5 separate regions of the Homo sapiens genome follow, and regions 2, 3, 4 and 5 are each linked to region 1. The links are contacts of gene promoters, found by promoter capture Hi-C in blood cells and fetal thymus (Javierre and others, 2016). All regions are on one chromosome and are shown on one strand. The core of a region is centred on a gene start or on the middle of the fragment in contact, and the rest is flanking DNA. Distances in the headings are between cores, read along the strand shown.

The links. Contacts are between HindIII fragments. The CHiCAGO score rates a contact against its expected background, and 5 or more counts as called.
Region 2: a fragment that was not itself captured here is called in contact with the fragment with the promoter of ARL3 in region 1 in 2 of 17 cell types (fetal thymus and erythroblasts); the score reaches 7.2 in fetal thymus.
Region 3: a fragment that was not itself captured here is called in contact with the fragment with the promoter of ARL3 in region 1 in 1 of 17 cell types (endothelial precursors); the score reaches 5.2 in endothelial precursors.
Region 4: a fragment that was not itself captured here is called in contact with the fragment with the promoter of ARL3 in region 1 in 1 of 17 cell types (total CD8 T cells); the score reaches 5.3 in total CD8 T cells.
Region 5: a fragment that was not itself captured here is called in contact with the fragment with the promoter of ARL3 in region 1 in 1 of 17 cell types (neutrophils); the score reaches 6.8 in neutrophils.

The regions. Positions count from the first base shown.
Region 1 is chr10:102,713,122-102,715,664 of GRCh38, reverse strand. ARL3 (ARF like GTPase 3) reads left to right here and starts at 1,268. Exons shown (of 6, transcript NM_004311.4): 1 at 1,268-1,392. The coding sequence starts at 1,390. SFXN2 (sideroflexin 2) reads right to left here and starts at 1,029. Exons shown (of 12, transcript NM_178858.6): 1 at 984-1,029. RefSeq lists enhancers at 51-626, 627-1,203 and silencers at 989-1,138, 957-1,351, 1,419-1,468, 1,509-1,608. The HindIII fragment of the contact is 3,072 bases long and covers 1-2,304 here.
Region 2 is chr10:103,396,938-103,399,480 of GRCh38, reverse strand. It overlaps PDCD11 (programmed cell death 11), which reads right to left. Exons shown (of 36, transcript NM_014976.2): 2 at 953-1,065. The coding sequence starts at 1,054. Among named protein-coding and RNA genes, the nearest start is that of PDCD11, 1.6 kb to the right of the region's middle. RefSeq lists enhancers at 1,369-1,869, 1,870-2,371. The HindIII fragment of the contact is 484 bases long and covers 1,037-1,520 here.
Region 3 is chr10:103,273,557-103,276,099 of GRCh38, reverse strand. No RefSeq gene overlaps it. Among named protein-coding and RNA genes, the nearest start is that of INA, 2.3 kb to the left of the region's middle. The HindIII fragment of the contact is 1,974 bases long and covers 281-2,254 here.
Region 4 is chr10:102,167,565-102,170,107 of GRCh38, reverse strand. No RefSeq gene overlaps it. Among named protein-coding and RNA genes, the nearest start is that of NOLC1, 16 kb to the right of the region's middle. The HindIII fragment of the contact is 1,609 bases long and covers 459-2,067 here.
Region 5 is chr10:103,245,734-103,248,276 of GRCh38, reverse strand. It overlaps RPEL1 (ribulose-5-phosphate-3-epimerase like 1), which reads right to left and starts at 2,390. Exons shown (of 1, transcript NM_001143909.1): 1 at 261-2,390. The coding sequence starts at 2,280. The coding sequence ends at 1,594. The HindIII fragment of the contact is 5,051 bases long and covers 1-2,543 here.

The DNA of each region.
Region 1 (2,543 bases), core at 19-2,518:
CGCAATTACCAATTTCTAGGGGTTGTGAAAATGAAATTTGGTATGAAATGTATTTCATTAGGAAGGATGTAATTTCCATACGGGCTGATTTTGTCCACTGCTGTGTCTCCAGCGTCTAGAACAGGGCCTAGCACGTTTGTGTAAACTCTTCTTATAGTCCTCTGCATCGGGAAAGGGATGGGAGGTAGCACTTCCCAACCCACCCCAGTGTCCCACTTGCTCTTCCTTGGCTAAAAATGCAGGCTCATTTTTGCCTCCTCCAGGACTACAGATGGTACGCGGTCCTGTCCAAAGCAGCTTAGCAAAACCGGCCAGAGGCTGGGCACAGTGGCTCACCACTTTGGAACACCTGTAGTCTCAGCACTTTGGGAGGCCTAGGCGGGCGGATGGCTTGACCCCAGGAGTTCGAGCCCAGCCTGGGCAACATGGCGAAACTCCGTCTCTACAAAAACAAAATACAAAAAATTATCCAGGCGTGGTGGCGCCCGCCTGCAATCCCAGCTACTCGAGAGTCTGAGGCGGGAGAATCGCTTAAGCCTGTGAGGCAAAGGCTGCAGTGAGCCGAGATCGCGCCACCGCACTCCGGCCCGGGCGACAGAGCGACACCCTGTGTCAAAACAAAAACCGGGCCGATCCCCAAAACGCCTTTCACCTGTGCTTTCAGCTCACCTCAGGGCTCAGGGCCAGCCCCCAGGCTGCTTCTTGCCCTCCGACAGACGGCCTCCCCCCATCGGTACTCCCCCATCCCGGACAGCTCGTAACGCCCCAGCCGCTCGGCCTGGCACTCCTAGGCAATGGGGGTCAGAGCAGAGGGGCCCATCTGCAGCCCCAGGGCGCACTTCGCGCCACGTGGCTTCTGCAGGTGGAAGTCCAGCCCGCGCTGCAGCCCCGCCTGGGCAGTCAGGACAGCAATCTCAGCACCCACCCGAGATGTGGGGATTGGAGGTAGACAGGGCGAGCGCCATTGTCCCAAGGCCCCTTACCTGGTCCCGGGACAAATGCCACCAGTTACAGCCCGCCTTGAAAACTGGCCCGGGTGAGAGGAGGACCTGGGCTGGGGAACTGCCCCCACGCCCGCCCCACGCCCCTCCTTTTCGACCAATCCCAGGCCGGGAGGCTCCCGCCAGCCACGTGGGCAGGCTTTCTCCACTCCCTGGTCCAGGCGAGCCGGCGGCGGCCTCTGCAGCTCCCGTAGCCCGCCCACTGCGTGGGCGGGCGCCTTAGCGCACTTGCGCACTCTGGGGAAAGCGGAGCTGCACCCCGCCCCGTATTGCTGCTCAGCTCCTCAGCTGTGCGTGCGAGGGACGTCGGGGGCGGCGCCGCAGCAGTTGCCCCTGGTAACGGGGGAGGCAGCAGGAGGAGGAGGAGGAGGAGGGACTCGGCGGGAGGATGGTGAGTGTGGGGGCCTGGGCCCCCTTGGAGCCGGCCGGTTATCCCCCTCCCGTCCCCAGGCCCAGGGCGGAGCACTGCGCTTAAAGCCAAGGAGGGAATGGGACGTCGCTCAGCCTGCTATCTGGGTTGTGGACTGATTTCGGGGGTCGGCGGGGAGACCCGAGGGTGGGCCCTGGAGGGAGGCCTGGGCCTGGAGAGGAAGGCGGGGCTTGCAGCGGGTCCGAGGCTTGGGGAAGGGGCTGGCAGAGTGCGCGGCTGGCCGGGTGCGGAGCCCGGGCTCCATCATTACTCTGGGGACAGGGGTGAGGGCGGATCCCAGGAACTGCGGAGAGCAGCTTTCGCTAGCAGGCTTAGACTTCCCGGGCAATCGGTCTCGCGGCTTTGCAGTAAAGTGGGGTTCGTCTGGAGCCCGGCCAGAAGCGGAGAGAAGGCCGGCCCCATTGGCTCTGAGGTCGCCCTGGCGGTAGCAGGGGAGATGGTAGCCTAGCTCTCCTCCTTCTCGCGCTGTGCGGGCCCCTGGGGGGTAGGGAAGTAAGTCCCACGACACAAAGGGGTGCCGCTTGGAAGGGATGCCTGGTGGATTTTACGCCGTCTTGGTGTCTGCGTGGCGGGTGCGCTTCCTCAGTCCCGAATTATTTAGTTATTTGCTGAGAGTTTTGCAGGATCTGATTGTTGGTGATGACCGATTTTTCATTCAATACATAATCCATGTTGATGAAGACATATTAGCTGCTCCGTCTCTAGAATTTCCTTCGAAACCTTTTGCAGTCTCCTCTTGCGTGTGACCATACCAGGACCAAAAGATCTTAATCCTAGCTTGAGTTCTCCAAACTGAAAAGAACGAGAAGTTAAAAATGGAGATCGAACTTCAATCCGGGGCAAGGCTTTTCTCTGTCAGTCCCAATTAAAGCTTTCCCAAATTCTAAATTATGGTTGTGACAGATCTGACCGTTGACACTCTGTTTCTTGTTAATGTCTGTACAGTTAGTTGGAGGGAGTTAAAATGGAATTGAGTAATTTTAGAGCTATCAAAGAAAAATTGATTTTGAACACTTAAAGCAGGTTAGTTGGCTGCAAAGAGCCTGTCATCAAACTTATAGTCACTGCTCCAACTCTCTTCCTAGTTCCTTTCTTGACTTTTAGAAATGTTG
Region 2 (2,543 bases), core at 29-2,528, 680 kb before region 1:
TCCAGTTACTCAGGAGGCTAAGGAGGGAGGATCGACTGAGCCCAGGAGTTTAAGTCCAGCCTGAGTAACAGAGTGAAACATCATCTCTCCCCATCTCTTGAAAAAACAACAACAAAAATAACAAAAACATCAGCTGGGTGCAGTGGCTCACACCTGCCATCCCAGCACTTTGGGAGGTCAAGGTGAGCAGATCATCTGAGGTCAGGAGTTTCAGACCAGCCTGGCCAACATGGTGAAACCCCATCTCTAACAAAAATACAAAAATTAGTCAGGTATGGTAGCAGGCACCTGTAATCCCAGCTACTCACGCCACTGCACTTCAGCATGGGCAACAGAGTAAGACTTCGTCTCAAAAAAAAAAAAAAAAAAAAAACTGCTTCCTCTCCATCCTTAATCAACATGGCACATGGCAAAGAGTGTCTAAGAACAAGGAACAGCACTTTATTTATTTTGTTTGTGTGTTTTTTGAGACAGAGTCTCACTCTGTCGCCCAGGCAGGAGAGCAGTGGCACAATATTGGGTCAGTGCAACCTCCACCTTCTTGGTTCAAGCAATTCTCATGCCTCAGCCTCCCAAGTAGCTAGGACTACAGGTATACTACCATGCCCAGCTAGTTTTGGTATTAGTATAGACGGGGTTTCACCATGTTGGCCAGGCTGCTCTTGAATTCCTAGCCTCAAGTGATCCGCCTGCCTCGGCTTCCCAAACTGCTGGGATTACAGGCATGAGCCACTACGCCCAGCTAATAACAGTACTTTAATACTAAATGCCAAGCTTCAAAAGATACAGCCTTGTGGTGGTATGGCCTCTCTAAATGAGTTAAATTTATAGAAGTAGACTTCAATGCAAAAAAAATCTGGAAAAATAACACATTCTCAAATAAGGCTCATTTTTCACAAGACACTACAGTAAAAGTTTCCAGTGAGTGTCACCAAACAAGCATACTACTTACATCAAATAAGTTGTCTTGTTCAACTGACTGCTGGAAAGCTTTCTCTGGTTTGTGGATCTTTCTTGTACCTCCTCGGGGGAAGCTTTCTTCCAGGTTTGCCATGTTTGGGTCTCCTAAAAACAATGCAAAGGATAATGGTGACATGTTGTCTTGGTAGCAGATTTCAGAAAGGTGTTATCAACGGGCAAGAGACAGAACGTTCCAGCAATATGCTAGACAACATTCAGGACTACAACATAGATGGTTTAGATGTCAGGCCCGGAATAATCCATACTTCATCTTTCCAAAGGTCTCTGCTTCAAAACCACAAGTCCACCCACCTTCTTCCAGAAAAAGAAGTTATAGATTCAATGTAGCACATACTCACTAAGAAGCTACAGTTAAGTCAGAGATACACTGTAGCTCTACAGATGAATATATAATCCTCTGCCTTCAAAGAACATGCACACTTTTTGGAAGATAAAACAATTATGCAAGTAACTTAAAATGCAAATCAGATTATAAATGATCACAAAGATGTAGGAAGGGATAAGGCAATGTAGGAAGGGATAAGTAAAGGAGGCAAGCTTCATAAAGAAGATCTTTTTTAGCTTAAGGGTAAAAGATGAACAGAAGCTTGACAGGTAGAAAGGGAATGTGAGAAAAGACATGGATGGGAAAAGCCTATTATTTCAATAAACACCAGCAATTTCCCTATCAAACAACTGCTCAAAGGCTTGCTGTTGTCTCTGAGGAATTATTCAACTAGACCACTGGGAGATTAAAGCATAAAAATTGAAGTTAAATTTTAAAGAAGGCCGGGCACCATGGCTCACACCTGTAATGCCAGCACTTCGGGAGCCCGAGGCGCGTGGATCATCTGAGGTCAGGAGTTCGAGACCAGCATAGTCAACATGGCGAAACCCCGTCTCTACCAAAAACGCAAAAATTAGCCGGGCGTGGTGGCCTGCGCCTAGTCCCAGCTACTAGGCAGGCTGAAGCGTGAGAATTGCTTGAGGCCGGGAGGCGGAGGTTGCAGTGAGCTGAGATCATGCCGCCGCACTCCAACCTGGGAGACAAAGTGAGACTCTGTCTCAAAAAAATTAAAGGAGAAGTTGGGCTTTTTTGTGGAAGACCTTGAATTAGATATGGGTAGTTTGCTTTGGCAAGTCAGAGACTTAAGCAGGGAAAGCGAGAGAACAGTAAGCAAGAAAAATATACTGCAGGCTATAGATTGGACATGAAGAGAGACAGTATTGAAGGCAAGTAAATTCGGTAGAAGGATTCAAATGCACTGTTTCCTGTTATCTCAGTGACAGAAAAAAAAAAAAAAAAAAAGGATTCAAATGCAGTACAGCAGAGAAACCATGAGAACCAGAACTGGGTATAAGTGAAAACAGAAGACAGGAGAGGTTAGTTCTGACAGACACTTGGTAATAAGACTCTACAAGGGCTTTAGACTAAAGAAGTGATGACCGGGTGGGGCCAAGGATATGGAATCAGGGATGGGTATATGATTCATAGAAACAGGAAAGTTTGGGGGGTCTAGTTTGCTGATAATTTCACCCTTAATTTCCTTTCAAGCAAGGGGAAACTGAGGCTCTGAAAAGTA
Region 3 (2,543 bases), core at 18-2,517, 560 kb before region 1:
TGTGGGCATTTGAGATTTCAGTTTGTGTAAATCCAGCAGGGCAGGTTCTCAACTGGCTTCAGAGAGCCACTCCCTGTGCAGATCTCTTTTTGGAGAAAAGAGATCCCTGCAAAAAGATTAAACTCCAGGAGTGGGGGAGAGTGCTGGTGACTGAGCCGGCCTCTTCTGCCACATGGTAGGGTTGGTGGGGCAGGGGGTGAGAATCAAAGAATGGAATCTGAAAAGATGAAGGCTGGGAGGGGTCAGTGTGGCGTCTGTAATATGTACCCACTTGCAAGCTTCTAATATCATTCAGGATGTGGATATGGCTTTGGAGAGGGAGTAGGAAGACCTTTTTAGTTATATCCCAGAATTCCAGACTGAGGGCCTTTTATTGATATTGGAATCTTCAAGGACGTAGTTCTAGGATAAGTTTTACTTCATGGGGAAAGGGGAATATGCTTGGGACAGGCCACTAAAGGAAGGGTGAAAAGGGATCTTATGGGACTTTGGAGCATATCTCTTGGCTTTGTGCTTGATGTCATGGAAGATGGTCAGGCCCTGCCACAGCCTGCCCCTCTGGTTCCTCATCACAGACCAAAGCCTTGAGTTGGAGGGACTCAATTCTGAGGTCTTTGGGCTTAGAAAGACCTGGTAAGGTGAACAATAAAAGATTGCTAACACTGCTGAGTAATGATTGTCTGCCAGTACTTGTGCTGGCACTTTTGCATAGGTTTACCTCTGAACCATGCTTCAAGGTGGCCCTCACCTCCATCTTATAGATAAGGCACCGAGGTGCGGGTGCAGCACAAGGTCACCAGCAAGCAAAGACAAGCATACATTCTCTCTTCACTACATAATTCTGCTTAGTGCAGTGAGACTCTTTTTTTTTTTTTTTTTTTTCTGAGACGGAGTTGGCCGGGTGCAGTGGCTCACACCTGTAATCCCAGCACTTTGGGAGGCCGAGATGGGCGGATCACTTGAGGTGAGGAGTTTGAGACCAGCCTGACCAACATGGTGAAACCCTGTCTCTATTAAAAATATAAAAATGAGCCGGGTGTGGTGGCACGGGCCTGTAATCCCAGCTCCTCAGGAGGCTGAGGCAGGAGAATTGCTTGAACTCGGGAGGTGGAGGTTTTAGTGAGCCGAAATCATGCGACTGCACTCCAGCCTGGGTGACAGAGCGAGACTCCATCAAAAAAAAAAAAAAAAAGAGAGACGGAGTTGCGCTCTTCTTGCCCAGGCTGGAGGGCAGTAGCGTGATCTTGGCTCACCACAGGTCAGCGGGTAGGTGTCTGCCACAACATCTGGCTATTTTTTGTATTTTTTTTTTTTTTTGAGATGGAGTCTCGCTCTGTCGCCCAAGCCGGAATGCAGTGGCACAATCTCGGCTCACTGCAACCTTTGCCTCCTGGGTTCAAGCAGTTCTCTGCCTCAGGCTCCCGAGTAGCTGGGATTACAGGTGCCCACCACCACACCTGGCTAATTTTTGTATTTTTAGTAGAGATGGGGTTTCACCATGTTGGCCAGGCTGGTCTTGAACTCCTGACCTCGTGATCCACCTGCTTTGGCCTCCCGAAGTGCTGGGATTACAGGCATGAGCCACCACGCCTGGCCAATTTTTTGTATTTTTACTAGAGACGGGGTTTCATCATGTTTTCCAGGCTCGTCTTGAACTTGACCTCAGGTGATCCACCTGCCTTGGCCTCCCAAAGTGCAGGGATTACAGACGTCAGCCACTGCGCCCAGCCTGCAGTGAGACTCTTGAAGTCTTGTTAATTTCCATGCAGCACGGCCGGCTGCCGTGGCTCCTGCCTGTAATCTCAGCACTTTGGGAGGCCGAGGCGAGTGGATCACCTGAGGTCAGGAGTTCGAGACCAGCCTGACCAACATGGAGAAACCTGTCTCTACTAAAAATACAAAATTAGCTGAGGGTGGTGGCACATGCCTGTAATCCCAGCTACTCTGGAGGCCAAGGCAGAAGAATCACTTGAACCCGGGAGGCGGAGGTTGTGGTGAGCCAAGATCGCACCATTGCACTCCAGCCTGGGCAACAAGGGTGAAACTGTCTCAAAAAAACAAAATATTTCTGTGCAGCCAGAATAGGACTAAGTGGGCTTTGGAAGAGTTTTGGCTGATAACAAATCAGCATGCTGGTTTGTAATTGAAAGAACATTGGACTCAGAGTCAGAGGCAATGGGTTTGAATTGTGGCTTCTGCCACTTACTAAGCATGTAGGGATAACAACACCTACCTCCCAAGAGTCATGAAAGCTTGAGCTGATGCATGTGAAGGTGCTTTTAAGCTGTAGGTATAAAGAGTTATGGTCATCATCATCCTCTTTCAAATGAAAGGAACGGTTTCACATCCATCAGCAACAGGATATGAATTGGGTTTAGGGAGGGGATTGCAGGAAATAGTCCATCACACCCTTGCACAGGTCTCCAGGCTACTACTACTGAAAGTCAGCAAAATGTCCTGGTTGGAGTTCCGCTTTCTTTCCCTTCCCATCCTCCAGTGGAATCAGTACCCCAAAGGCAAAACACACATAGAACAGAAGAAAG
Region 4 (2,543 bases), core at 14-2,513, 550 kb after region 1:
CAAACAAACAAACAAAAAACCCCTTCTCTAATTTCCAAAACTAAAGAGCCTCAGATGAGGGCCTGTGTCTTATTCATCTGTGTATCCAAAGGCTCACAGTGGGCTCTTCAAGGTGTTTTTTTTTTTTTTTGAGACGGAGTCTCGCTCTGTCGCCCAGGCTGGAGTGCAGTGGCGCTATCTCGGCTCACTGCAAGCTCCGCCTCCCGGGCTCACGCCATTCTCCTGCCTCAGCCTCCCGAGTAGCTGGGACTATATAGGCGCCCGCCACGGCGCCCCGCTAATTTTTTGTATTTTTAGTAGAGACGGGGTTTCACTGTGTTAACCAGGTTGGTCTCGATCGGCTGACCTCGTGATCCGCCCGCCTCCGCCTCCCAAAGTGCTGGGATTACAGGCGTGAGCCACTGCGCCCGGCTCTTCAAGTTTGTTGAATAGCACTGGAGTAAGTAAGGAGTTAAGCTTCTATTTAAGTCCAGCCCAGCTCCCTAAACAGGGGGGCAACATCGCCACCTACTGGCCCCATCGGTAACTGCAGACAGGCTCTGCAGGAGGGATTTGAGAACTTCGTGGTCCGGCAGAAATAGTGCTTTCACCGCAACCGGATTAGTGCCAGGAGTATTGTATTAGACTATCAAATCTCCTAACATACTCAGGTGGACAAAATAAAGTACTAATTCCTAACTTAGGTACAAAAGGCCATTGACATTGAACTCTCAGTGAAATTTCGCAGTATCTTGCCCCCACCTCCCGCACACCTCTGCTTGACCCATTCTAACAGCCCTCTTCTCCCACTGGAAAAGGCACTCTTCCTTACACGGTATGCACTTTTCTCGCTCCTGGCAAACTGCAGCTGTCTTCAGAATCCTAGGCCACCATCAGCCAAGTCTTTTCTTCTTCTTCTTCTTCTTTTTTTTTTTTTTTTTTTTTGAGACAGAGTTTCACTTTGTTGCCCAGGCTGGAGTGCAGTGGCACGATCTTGGCTCACTGCAACCTCCGCCTTCCGGTTTCAAGCGATTCTCCTGTCTCAGTTTCCTGAGTAGCTGGGATTACAGGCGCCTGCCACCACACCTGGCTAATTTTTTGTATTTTTAGTAGAGACGAGGTTTCACTATGTTGACCAGGCTGGTCTCGAACTCCTGACCTCGTGATCTGCCTGCCTCGGCCTCCCAAAGTGCTGGGATTACAGGTGTGAGCCACCACACCGGGCCAAGCCAAGTATTTTCTTGCTTGTACCCTTAGGGGTGCTACTCTGACCTTCAGTTTGGGACAGAACTCAGCTCAGTGCACAGAAACCATTCCCATGCCTGACTTTCCCCATTAGACACTGAGCTCTCTGGGAGTTCTATGACGAGTACATAGCAGGTTCACAAAGACTATTGAATACAGGTAGCTCCATGTTTGGACATACAGAGACCTGTGTTCTTGTCTCAATGTGCCACTAAGTTGCAGTTTCATCAACCCTAAGTAAATCATTTGATACTCAGGGCTGTTTCCGTAGTGGTTTTCAACTAGGGGCAATTTTCCTTCCCAGAAAATATTTGGCAATGCCTGGAGCCGTTTTTGGTTGTCACAACTAGGGGAAACTATTGGCATGCAGTGTTAGAGGCCAGGGACGCTGCCACACATCCTACAACACACAGGACAGTCCTCAAAAGCAAAGACTTACCTGGCCCCAAATGGAATGATCTACTCGATACCCACCTAACAGGGTTGCAGTAAGGCTACACCGGGCGAAGGGCAAGCCCCCAACAGGGCATTAGGAAGTCTCCTGCCTGTGTCCATGAAGCATGATGCAGAGGGGCATGAGCCATGTGTCTGGTTGACTGAATTTGCGGATTTCAGTGCCAGAGCCCATCAGCAAGGGGTAGGAATTCCAGATTCTTCACAAAACTAAGAAGTTTCTAATAGGACCAATTCCACATATCCATTTTTGTATCAGGAATAAAGATGATAAACGTGAAACAACAAAAAACCATTGCAGGGAAATAATCATTAACATATGCTTGATGCCTTTGCCAAAATGGCATGTTGCACATCACAAGGAAACCAAAGAACATCATTTCCAAAGCTTTTTTTGTTGAGCAAGAGGCAGTTATGGAGTGCTTATAATATGCCAGGGACTGTACTAAGTGCTTTAAATTCTCAGTCCTTACAACAAGCCTCTGAGAGAGTCAAGAATCTACAAATGAGTTGAGATAGTATTCTCTCTTTTTTTGAGACAGAGCCTTGCTCTGTCACCCAGCCTGGAGTGCAGTGGTGCGATCTCAGCTCACTGCAAGTAGCCAGGATAGTCTCGATCTCCTGACCTCGTGATCCACCCGCCTTGGACTCCCAAAGTGCTGGGATTACAGGCCCAGCCAGTATTCTCATTTTACATCAGAAGGTACACTCTGGGCTGGGCACAGTGGCTCACGCCTGTAATCCCAGCACTTTGGGAGGCTGAGGTGGGAGGATTGTTTGAGAGTAGCCTGGGCAACACAGGGAGACCCTGTCTCTACAAAACAAAATTAAAAACAAAAACAAAAACAAAACAAACAAAAAAACAA
Region 5 (2,543 bases), core at 23-2,522, 530 kb before region 1:
CTGGATCATTCTTTCTTAAAACCATGTTCAGAATCAAGTTGAGTAGCCTCCTGTAGAACTATCTGGCATGGGGTAATGGGAAAATGGCAAATACCAGGCTTGTACATCACCACTCACCATTCCTCACTCATGGCAGCCACAACTAATCAAACCTGGCACTTTACCCTCTTAATTCAATAATTAAGAATTCAAAACCTAGGAATTCTTTCTCAAGTCACTGTTTCAGGCAGGTGCTACCAATGGATAGGAGTTGGCATGGGAGACGTAATCAGGCAGGTGGGTTCGAACCTATACTGCACCCTTACTAGCTATATGACCTTGAGCAGGTCAGGCAACCTTCCTGAGACTCAGTTTTTGTCAACTGTAAATTAAGATAGTATCTCATTTGCAGTAGAATTGCCTTAGAATTATCCTGAGGATTTGTTGACAACATATATGTAAAAGTAGCCAGCACTGTACCTGGAAGAGACAAGGCCATGAAAAGTGTATAGCCTTTGAGGAGCCCGTCAATCCCTTCAGCTCGTGCTCTGGAAACTGTTAGGGAACACTTTTTTTTTTTTTTAAATGGGGACAAAAATATCTGCTTTATTATTACCACTTACTTATAGAGGTGATTTACAGATTTAATGAGAATATATCAAAGTACTTTATAACTCACAAAAATATAAACTTATATAATGCTATCTACTTTGTATTGAGCATATTCTAAATTCTGGGACTAGTACTAGAAACTTTACATATATAGTGTTACCTCTTAATTCTCAACACAACCCCACAGTTGTTATAATTACATTTAATGTATAAATGACTTCAGAGAAACACAAAAAAGACTGGGTGATTTGTTAAAGGTCCAGCTAGAAAAGGGCAGTCAGAATTCAACCCAATATTACTTCCATACAGAGGTTTTTACTTTTTCCTTTCTACTCAGAGCTAACACAACAGCATTATTTAACGTCCTTAAGAATGGTGGGGAGGAATCACTGAATAACCTGCTTTGACAAAAACACCCTGATAAAATCTATGCTTGTATTTTAGAACCCCTGGGTTTCACGCATTGTTTTTATAGTTTTTACACATTAAGTGTAAGGTGAAAAGTGATAGATTTTAAGAACCAAGAATATGGTATGCCATCCCACCCAAACTTATAAACAAATCACAAATAACATGAAATAGAAAAAAGCCATAAAGACTTCCTTTGCTTTTGGAAAACAGCTGAGAAACAACAAAATTCTTTTCAGAAGTACAGACAAAATTTGTTTTTGTAGTGTAGCTAATATGCCCTCCTTAGGCATTAAGACACTTTTCTGTTTGTAACCTTAATGCAGCCGTATTTTTACTCTTTATAAAAATCAAGTCTCTCAATAAAAACAGTATCTTACTCACTAATCATTAAATTGCATCACTAAAAATGTAGTTATACACACCAATTTCTGACCTCTTAGAATATTCTGCACAATCAGTTTTAATCACTGGAATGAATAACTGCTCAAAAAAGCAGTACAGCTTCAATTTCATGATGATTTGGTAGTCAATATTCCTGTTTTCCAGTAAAAGGGAGATTTCATGAACAGAAACATTGGGCTCCTTATGGTTTCATCGATCAAGAGAACGTTTCTGAGCAGCTTCTGAGCAAATATTTCTTAATAGGTTGATCACAGATCTGGGGTCTTCACTCCTCATAATAGCACTGCCAGATACAGTCATGTTAGCTCCTGCCTCTGCACACTTATGGACAGTGTCAGAACCTACTCCACCATCGCCCTCTATATCCAAAGATGGGAACTGGGTCCTCAACCAGTGAACCTTTGGCATCATATCTTCCATGAATTTCTGCTCTCCAAACCCCGGTTCCACTGTCATAACCAAGGCCATATCTATTTGATTAGCCCATGGTGCCAAATACTCAACTGAGGTTCCTGGTTTGATGGCAAGGCCAACCTTCATCCCATTCTCCCGAATGTCTTTAATCAAAGTCCCTGGGTTCTCAGTAGCCTCGAGATGAAAGGTGTACTGATTGGCTTCTGCTACAGCCATTGGCTTTACCCACTGTTCTGGCTTGGACACCATCATGTGCATGTCAAAGAAAGGGTCCTGGCCTAGCTGCTTTCGAAGGCTTTCTACCACAGGGTGACCAAAGGTGATGTTGGGAACAAAATGCCCATCCATTACATCCAGATGCAGATAATCGGCCCCAGAGTCTAGCATCTGGAGGCACTTGGCCCCTAAATTGGCCAGGTCGCTGTTGAGGATGGACGGGCCAATCTTGCAGCCCGACGCCATACCGCTGGCTCCCAAGAACAAGTTACCCCACGAGTCCCCGGCAAGACTAGAGCCCACTTTTTTTTTTTTTAAAACCAGGAAATTCTACCAAAGAACCACAGTTTGGCCAGGCACAGTGGCTCATGCCTGTAATCCCAGCACTTCAGGAAACCAATGCAGAAGGATCACTTGAGCCCAGGTGTTTGAGACCAGCCTAGGCAACATAATAGGAACCCGTTTTTACAAAGTAAAAAATTTGCCTGTGTGATGGCACATGCCTGTGG